Regions from separate parts of the Homo sapiens genome. Here region 1 is linked to region 2. The links are contacts of gene promoters, found by promoter capture Hi-C in blood cells and fetal thymus (Javierre and others, 2016). All regions are on one chromosome and are shown on one strand. The core of a region is centred on a gene start or on the middle of the fragment in contact, and the rest is flanking DNA. Distances in the headings are between cores, read along the strand shown. Region 1 overlaps TATDN2 (TatD DNase domain containing 2). Region 2 holds the start of IL17RC (interleukin 17 receptor C).

Region 1 (4,493 bases), core at 1,643-4,142, 340 kb before region 2:
AACTAAAGAATCTAAAAACCAAACAAAAAACAAATAAAACCCCTCTACAATAACAAAAACACCAGAACAGGAAGAACAAGAGACTACAGTGATCACGCACTGGAGGCTAGAAAGCAGATGGCCAAATAACACCTCACTGGCAGACCAAGAGAAGGCTGAGACCTAAGCTAGGCACCAGGAAAGCTTAGAACAGAGCAGGCACTCGCGGTACTGGGCACCTTGGGAACTGGAGGAACTGGAGTTACAGAAGAACATTAAAAGGAGGAGGACAGGGTGAAATCTGGTTTCCAATGAGTTAGATCCCAGATTCCCTCCTCATACTCAGAGAAGGTGAGTTGTTTGAAGACAGTAAAACAAGAGGATCTCTAGAATAAGGCCTGGTCAGCTCAGTGGAGGGCACTGGTACTGCACCAAAAAGACAAAGATTAAGTGAATGCTGACGCCGCCCCCGCAGCCGCCCCTTTCGCTACCCAGCTCCCAGCCACCTTTCCTCCTAAGCAGGCTGAAAAACACTCCTCTGGGCAAGGTGACCAGTCTCGAGGCTTTCCTAAAAGCAGTGACATGGCAAGGGGAAGAGGGTTATATTCTCCCGATCATCCCAAAGCAAAGCTCAAAGTCTTTACGCTCAGAGCTTCCAAACAGCTTTTTAATCCTCCCATTCTTGATCATAAACAGACAACCAAAGATTACCAGACATGTGAAGGCAGCCTCTAACACAGAAGAGATCAAAAGAAACGGAAAGAAGCAACTTAAAGAAAACTAAAACCAAGCCAAAAAACTACCATGAACTCCCTAAAAGAGATAACAGAAGATGAAACAAGAACAGAGATGTTATTAAAAAACAAAAGAGCTCTTGGATAATAAAAAGCATGACAGTAGAAAAGTAAAACTAAATAAACAGCTGGGTTGGAAGATAAAGAAAAGGAAATATCCTACAAAGTAAAGCAAGAAATTGGCTAGAAACAAGGGAGAAAGGCAATAAAATTACAGGACCAGTCCTGAAAAATCCAACATCCAAATAAGAGAAAGAAGGTAGAGAAGCTAGAGAGAGAAAGAGAGAAGAAAAATACGGAAAGAAAACATCAGCGAAGTACAGTAATTCACGAACTTTTCCCACAGCTAAAGTACAAGGGTTTCTAGATTGAAAGGGAATGTCCCATGCTAAGCAAAGTAGACACCACCACCATGAAATTTCAGAGCCCTGAGATCAAAATATATTCTACAAGATTCCACAGAGGGAAAAAAAAAAAAAATACAGGTTGGGCACGGTGGCTCACACCTGTAATCCCAGCACTTTGGGAGGCTGAGCCGGGCGGATCATGAGGTCAGGAGTTCGACACCAGCCTCACCAAAATGGTGAAACCCCATCTCTACTAAAAATACAAAAATTAGCCGGGTGTGGTGGCACATGCCTGTAATCCCAGCTACTCACAAGGCTGAGGCAGGAGAATCGCTTGAACCTGGGAGGTGAAGATTGCAGTGAGCTGAGATCACGCCACTGGACTCCAACCTGGGTGACAGAGCAAAACTCTGTCTCAAAGCAAAAGAAAATAAAAAATAAAAAATCATATACCAAGGTTCAGGAACCAGCATAGCTTCAGACATCAAGAAAACCAGAAGAGGCCAGGCGAAGTGGCTTACACCTGTAATCTCAGTACTTTGGGAAGCCTAGGCAGGTGGATCACCTCAGGTCAGAAGTTTGAGACCAGCCTGGCCAACATGATGAAACTCTGTCTCTACCAAAAATACAAAATTAGCCAGGTGTGGTGGCGTGTGCCTGTAATCCCAGCTACTCGGGAGGCTGAGACAGGAGAATCACTTGAACCCAGGAAGTGGAGGCTGCAGTGAGCCAAGATCACACCAGTGCACTCCAGCCTGGGCAAGACAGAACGAGACTCCACCTCAAAAAAAAAAAAAAAAAAAAAAAAGCCCAGAAGAAAAGGAGCAATGCCTTCAAAATCCCAAACAAAACAATTTCCAACCTGGAATTCCAAAACCAACCAAGCTTGTAATCAAGGTTAAAGGTAAAATAAAGGCAATCTCAGACACATGTTTACCAAAAAAAGTTTCTCCATGTACCCTTTCTCAAGAAGCTACTAGAAAAAGTATTCCACCAAAATGTGAGAGTAAACCAAGGAAGAAGAACATGAGAAGACACAGAGTATAGGTAGCAGAAGACTCAATCCGGGAGAAATGTGAAGGAGGCTCCAGAGAGACAGCTGCCAGCTGGCCTGACGGCAGGCAGTCCAGACCAGAGCAGGACAACAGAGGGCTGAGGACGTATACCTCCAAGAGAGAAAAAAAAGAAACAGATTCCTTATTTTGACAGTATTGAGAAGGATTTTACAGCTCTCGCAGTTTGGGGATTAATTAGTGAAAGGTACCAGGAAAACCAAAGGAAAAACAAAGTAATGATGAACTTTAAGGAAAATGAAGTTTTACAAGAAAGAAAATGTGATCAGAGTATACAAGGCGACTCAGCTGTGAACATGGCAGTAACAAATCTTACACAGACTTAACCCAAAAGGTATTCAAGCCACACAGGGAGGCTGCAGAAAGGGGAAGCTAATGTGTCCCTGGGTGTGGGTGCTTCTGAAGGAGGTATAGAGAACTAAATTCTCATCGCCCAAGCAAGAAGTCCTCAGACATCTAAAACTGAAAAACTGATCAACAGTAAAGATTATTTAGAAACATGGGGTAAGTACTAGAAGAAAGAGCTAAAGATGAGAGAAGCTGCCTGCAGAGCAGTAGTAAAGGATGGGTGGAGACGAGTAAGATGGAGGAATGTGGCCTGGCACAGTGGCTCATGCCTGTAATCCCGGCACTTTGGGAGGCCAAGGCAGGTGGATCACGAGGTCAGGAGTTCGAGACCAGCCTGGCCAACATGGAGAAATCCCATATCTACTAAAAATACAAAAATTAGCCGGTTTGGTGGCGCACACCTGTAATCCCAGCTACTCAGGAGGCTGAGGCAGGAGAATTGCTTGAACCCAGGAGGTGGAGGTTGCAGTGAGCCAAGATTGCACCATCGCACTCCAGCCTGGGCAACAGAGCAAGACTCTGTCCCAACAACAAAAAAAAAAAAAAAAAGAAAAAGATGGAGGAATGCTTCCCCTCAATTATAAGCTATGTTAAAAATCACTAGTTTCCGTCCAATGACATCCTTCCCTTCTTCTCTGGTTATCCAGGTACAAGTCTGCCTAGATAAAGGCTGATTTTCCAGACTCCCTTGCAGCCAGGTGTCAGCCGGGTTTCCCCGCTCTTGTCAACAGCAGATACAACATGTGCAACTCTTGAGCCAAGCTCTTAACAGGGAAGGAATGCACTCTCCTCTTCTCCCCTTCCCACTGGCCAGAATGCCCAGATAACAAACCCTGAGTCCTATCAGAGTATCCATTTCACACCAAGAGATGGACACTGTGTTGAGGGGTGATAGAGAATCAAGACAAAAGGTACCAGTATCTCTGACATGATGGAGCCATCCTTCTTAAGCCAAACTTATATTCTGTTTAAGCCACTGTGATTTTGGCCTTTTACACAGCAGCTAAACCCATATCCTAACATATAAATCCTTCAAAAAAAAAAAAAAGCACTTAGTTTAGGTTTATTAATAACTCTGAAAATCTGAAAAGTATGTTAGAAGAAAACCATCAGTTTGTTCCCTGGAGGCCTGGTTAAGTAAAGTACTATTTTTAATTAGTAACACTTAGGATCAAACTAGAAAGATGGAACACATTTCATCAACAGAACTAAAAAGTCAGATGCCTGGTACAAGCTTTACTCACCTTTTGGATTTCTAAATGAGAGTCAGAGTCATCCAAGAACTCTAGGGGTGGAGAGCATTTGTCAATGACAGTCCTTCGGTCCCCAAGGGGCTCCTCACTGGGTTTCTCTTGAGGGTCTATAACTACTCTCCTGTCATAGAAGCTGCTCCTCTCTGGCACTGTCTTATCCTCCTCCATGCTGACCTCTGGGGTTGCGTCTTTCTCCTTCTGAGCAGCAGTGACTGTGACACTCCTGGCTGCTCCTTCTGCAGTCTTGGCTGGTCCTTCACTCCTGGCTGGTCCTTCTCCATGGCTGGGATGCTCTGCTGCGCTTGGTTTTGCCCGAGTGGCAGCCTCTCCCTTCCTTTTTGGCATCGATTTCCCCAGGATGCCCTGGATAGCCTTCAGGTAGATCATTGTGGAGCCCTGGTCTCGAAGTCTATCCCTCTTCCTTTTCTGGACCTTGTTGGGTTCCTCAATTGTATCATTCTGACCCTCAGCTTCAGCTGCAAATTCAGAGTTTGTGGAGTTATGAGAACTATCTTTGGAATCAACCTGGGAAAAAAAAAACAGAATTGAAAGGGCTGTTCCAAGGGCACTTTCGTACATGAAGCATTTGGCAAATTATAAATCAGTGGTGGTTCTACCAGTCAAAGGGAAAGTGACTGTGGCTAAGGCAAAGGTTCTCTCCGGGTGGTGAAGTGGCACTGTAAGAGGGGCTGATTGCTG
Region 2 (4,620 bases), core at 2,121-4,620:
GCTGGCGGTGCAGGGCTCAGAATCCAGGCCAAGGGCTGTGGGATCATCTGCAGGGACCACTCTGCTCACTGCCCTCCTCCCCCAACTAATGACTGTATTTATACTGTATAGCCTGAAATCTACTATTCACCTTTCTTTCAAGGGGCCTCAATTCTAAAGCAAATGTCCTCAGTAAGAGTGTCACCAGGGCGGGAAAAGGCCCTAGACATTTAAATCCCTGCACCCACCCTGCTGTGCTAGATCACCTGGCCAAAGCTAAGGAGATGAGACACCCCAACACAATATGGCACACCCCTCCCCACAGAAGTGGTTCTCACACTCAACCCAGTGCCTCAGTGTTCCTTACAACTGCTTGTGACATGGACCAAGCAGATGTTCTCCCAGTCTACAATTCTCCAGATAGGATATTGGCTGGGGGCTGGAGGTTGGAGGGAAAGTCAAAGGGTTTGAGTGATTTGACCCCAGTGGAAATAGACCTTCCAGGTACATGTGGCCTCCTAAGGCAGGGAGAAGCCCCAACACCCTGCACCATGGTACTTACACCATGGTAAGTATACCATGGTATGTATGGTAGGACTCTTTCTTTGGTCCAAGAGTACAGAGAAGTGCATCCAGCCCACAGACCTCCCCTCTCCAAGCCTCATTTTATCTATCTGGAAAATGAGGATACTAATAATGCCTCATCAGGTAGTTTTGAGGATTACAAAAGAATTAAATTTATTGAAATTATTCAGTGCCAGGCATTACATCCAGTGTTTTACAGGTACCAACTTAATTTAATTCTCACAACAGTCATGTGAGGTGGGACTATTCTTTTTTTTTGAGACGGAATCTCGCTCTGTCGCCCAGGCTGGAGTGCAGTGGCGCGATCTCGGCTCACTGCAAGCTCCACCTCCCGGGTTCACGCCATTCTCCTGCCTCTGCCTCCCGAGTAGCTGGGTCTACAGGCGCCCACCACCATGCCTGGCTAATTTTTTGTATTTTTTTAGTGGAGGCAGGGTTTCACAGTGTTAGCCAGGATGGTCTCAATCTCCTGACTTCGTGATCTGCCCGCCTCAGCCTCCCAAAGTGCTGGGATTACAGGTGTGAACCACTGTGCCCGGCCAGAACTATTGTTTTTTTATGTGGCAAAAACAAAAACAAAAACAAAAACAAAAAAACTTTAAGAGATATTTCACAAGGAAGTTACACAAATAGCCAATAAGCATGTGAAAAAAGTGCTCAACTTCATCAGTCATTGGAAGATACAAATTAAAACCACAATGGCAAACCACTACATATGCAGAAAAATTATGACAATTACAACACTTATGCTTGTTTTGGCACCACATATACTACAACTGGAACAATACAGAAAAGATTAGCAAGGCCCGTGCCTGAGGATGACATGCAAATTCATGGAGGGTCCCATATATTTAAAATTCAAATATATTTAATTTAAAAATAAAATAAAATTACACCATCAAGTGTTGGCAAAGATGGGAAGCAACTAGGACTCCCATACACTGCTGGTAGGAGGGGAAAATAGTAGAAGCACCCTGAAAAACGCTTGGTGATTTCTCGCAGTCAAGCATATGAAGTAGAACTATTCTCATCCCCATTTTACAGACATAAAAGCTGAGGCATAACAGGCTGAAGGGACTTGCCCACAGCGCTGATCAGAATCAAAAGAATAGTCCCACCTCACATGGCTGTTGTGAGAATTAAATAAGTTGATACCTGTAAAACACTGGCTGTAATGCCTGGTACTGAAGGGTTTCAATAAATTTAATTCTTTTGTAATCCTCAAAGAGATAATGCATGTGAAAAAGTTTTATAGATTTTAGGTTTAGAAGGTGATTATTATTATTTTGCATACCACAGACTGACCAAACTGCACAAGGGCAGCAGGCACTTGCACCTCCAGCAGGACGCAGCGGGCAGTAGGGTAGGCCTGGAAGGAGAGCACGACTTGGGCCTGGAGAGAGGCTGTGGGCAACAGGGCAGGGGTCAGTCAGGCCCAGGAGCGGCAGGCCAGGCCTTGGCATGGGGCAGTTGGGCCAGCCAGGTTCTCCTCACCATTCCTAGGCTCCTCCACCCCTGAGTCAGCTGCTCCTCCAAACTTTTCCTCATCTTCAGGCTCTTCCCAGTGCCCTAGAAGGACCCAAGAGCAAGGCCCTGGGTGAGGCCCCCTGCTCTGGGCTGGCTGGCTTTGGCGTTGGCTTCCTTCTGGAAAGCCCAGTGCTGGGAAGCAGGGGCTGGGGAGACCACACTGGCCTGGGGGTCCTTCTGCTGGTGTCCTCCAGGAGAACACTGAGGATGCCTAGCACTGCTTGAGAGATCCCCTGGCCCTCATGCCCACCCCAGACACACTCACGTGTACACATGCACTGTCACAGGATGACTTGCTCACCATGCACGGCCAAGTGGACAGCCACACGCAGACAGAGGTCACAGTCGGTCTCCTTCTGGCACCTCAGCACCAGCTCTGTCTGCAGGTGCGTAGGCGCCAGCACGGGGCCCGGAGCAGGCACGATGTCCCCAGGCAGGCAGAGTATGTCACTGTCTGTGTGTGGAGGAGCGGGTGGGAGCTGAAGCTGTTCCAAGCCCAGAATTTGGTGGCACCTGACATACCCAGAGAGCCAAAGAACTTGGCTGTCCTAGGCTGAGGTGGGCATGGAGGGCATGGGCCTGGGACAGCTCTGCTCCCTTCGGCCAACCTGGGAAATTCTTTTTAAAAGTAGGGATACTTACCCCAGAGGCGGCAGGAGAGGCCCTGGGAAGGAAAGAAAGGAGAGTCAGAATTTGTGCCCCCACCATCTAGGCACTGTTCTCTGCCTAAGACCTCCACCTACCTTTTTCTGGGGCTCCGTATTCCCAGACCCTCCCAGAGAAAGACAGACCCAGCTCTTGCCCCTTCCCCGTTCTTCTCTTCTACCATCAGCACCAGACAGACCAGACAGGGCAGTTCTGGCAGTGGCAGCAGTGACAGGAGCCAGGCTAAGGCTTTGCTGAGCCAAAAACTGAACCCTGAGCCTTTCCTCGTCTCCCCAGGGTTCCAGACTCACCGGAGAGCAGTGGGTAGCGTCCTGAGGCCCCACAAGCCTCTCCAGAGAAAGGACCACTGGGCTTCGGCCCAGTGCCAAGGACAGCAAGAACCAGGGCACAGGCATCTTCTAGGTGCCAGGTGGCACCCAGGCCTGAGGCCCTGTGCTGCCCCCCCCCAAGGGGGGCAGACACCCCAGTCAGCCCGTGTCTGTGGGTGGCAGGGGCTGGAATCCCTCTTCAGCCTCCAGAGGGGGCGGAGGGGGCTGTGCTGGGTAGTTTGTGCACTCTCTGTCCTGGGAGTCCTGACTCTCCTCCTACTTCCAGCACGGAGTGCTTTCGTTTTGGCTCCCGGCAGGCTGCTGGCTGTTCCCGCCCCTCTCTGTCCCTCCCACCAACACCAGGCTTGGGAGCCAGCAGCCTTGGACTAGGGTGGTGGCCGCACCTCCTCCTTCTTTGGCTCTCCTCTCCCTCTGCTGACACCTGGCTGGGAGGGGCCCCTGAAGAAGACAGCGAATGCATCACGGCTGAGTAAGGGAGCTCTTACTCACCCCCGGAGCCCTAAGGAGGACACAGCCCTGGAGTCCTGGGCCCACTAAGTCTCCCCTTACTAGGCACACTCGGTCCCTTCAGACACTCTTTGGGCCTCGGTAACCCTTTGTGGGACAGGAGCTCTAAAAGCACGGACAAAAGGCACCAGAAAGTGGGCTTTTCACCACTGCCTGGCTCAAATGCGGTATGGGGAGTAGAAGGAACCCAGGACCCCAGAGCCTGGCAGACAGGGGTCCCATCTGTGCTGTTGCTGTGGGCCGGCTGTGTGATGATGGACACACCATCTGGCGAAGCCTCTGTTTTCCTCTCCTCTTGTAAGAATCACTGGGGGGGATCAAGGAGATTGCCCCATCCTCCTTTGCTTTTGGAGGCATTGCTTGTAAGAATGTGACGGATGCCATGCGGTATGGACACAGAGGATTTGGGCCAGCACACTGACACATACCCCACCAGGCAGGCTCCCCAGCCACACTAGAGAAGCACACTGTGTTTTCTTAGTTTGTCATGTTTGTCTTTATTCATCTTTCCGGATCTTGGTCCCCACCGCCAGCACCCACCCACCCCACCCCCAACCCCCACTGTCCTGACCACCTGGAGCCAAAAGCCTCTTTTCCTAGGTCCAGAGTCCTCTCTCCCTCTGGCCAGAGCCTCAGAGTGGGAAAGGGAATCCCTGGCCCCCAAGGAGGTTTTCTCTCAGCCGCCCCCTGCAATCCCCCACCGCCTCACCCTCCTTCAGAACTGACATGGCTCCTGCCTCCCTACCCCGGCCCCAACCTCTCCAGCCTGGACTGAAGCATAAGCACACTGCTCTTTCTGGAGTTCTGGAGAGGAAGTGGGAAGACCGCCCTCCCCCATCAGAACAGGGGTTAGAGGAGCTCTCAGTCAAGGGAAAGTATGAGGAGGAAGAGGGACGCGCGCGGGGACTGGGCTGGGACTTCCGGCCTGTGAGGCAGGGAATGCGGCTTTTCGGCCAGTCGTCCTCGAGGCACCCCAAGGATTTCAGGGTCGAAGGCTCATTCCGGGGTTCCAGCCAGTGTCCGTTGC

What was found. The method cuts DNA at HindIII sites, captures the fragments that hold promoters and counts their contacts. A CHiCAGO score of 5 or more calls a contact.
Region 1: a contact is called between a fragment that was not itself captured here and the fragment with the promoter of IL17RC in region 2, in 7 of 17 cell types (naive CD4 T cells, activated CD4 T cells, non-activated CD4 T cells and 4 more). The highest score is 8.1, in naive CD4 T cells.

What each region holds. Positions count from the first base shown.
Region 1 is chr3:10,259,963-10,264,455 of GRCh38, reverse strand. TATDN2 (TatD DNase domain containing 2) reads right to left here. Exons shown (of 8, transcript NM_014760.4): 3 at 3,786-4,319. Among named protein-coding and RNA genes, the nearest start is that of TATDN2, 14 kb to the right of the region's middle. RefSeq lists a silencer at 332-521. The HindIII fragment of the contact is 1,770 bases long and covers 2,008-3,777 here.
Region 2 is chr3:9,915,848-9,920,467 of GRCh38, reverse strand. IL17RC (interleukin 17 receptor C) reads right to left here and starts at 3,370. Exons shown (of 19, transcript NM_153460.4): 1 at 3,048-3,370; 2 at 2,734-2,755; 3 at 2,393-2,545; 4 at 2,059-2,133; 5 at 1,859-1,968. The coding sequence starts at 3,152. IL17RE (interleukin 17 receptor E) reads right to left here. Exons shown (of 16, transcript NM_153480.2): 16 at 4,071-4,620. It also overlaps the pseudogene RNU6-882P. RefSeq lists enhancers at 3,459-3,648, 3,578-4,117. The HindIII fragment of the contact is 19,830 bases long and covers 1-4,620 here.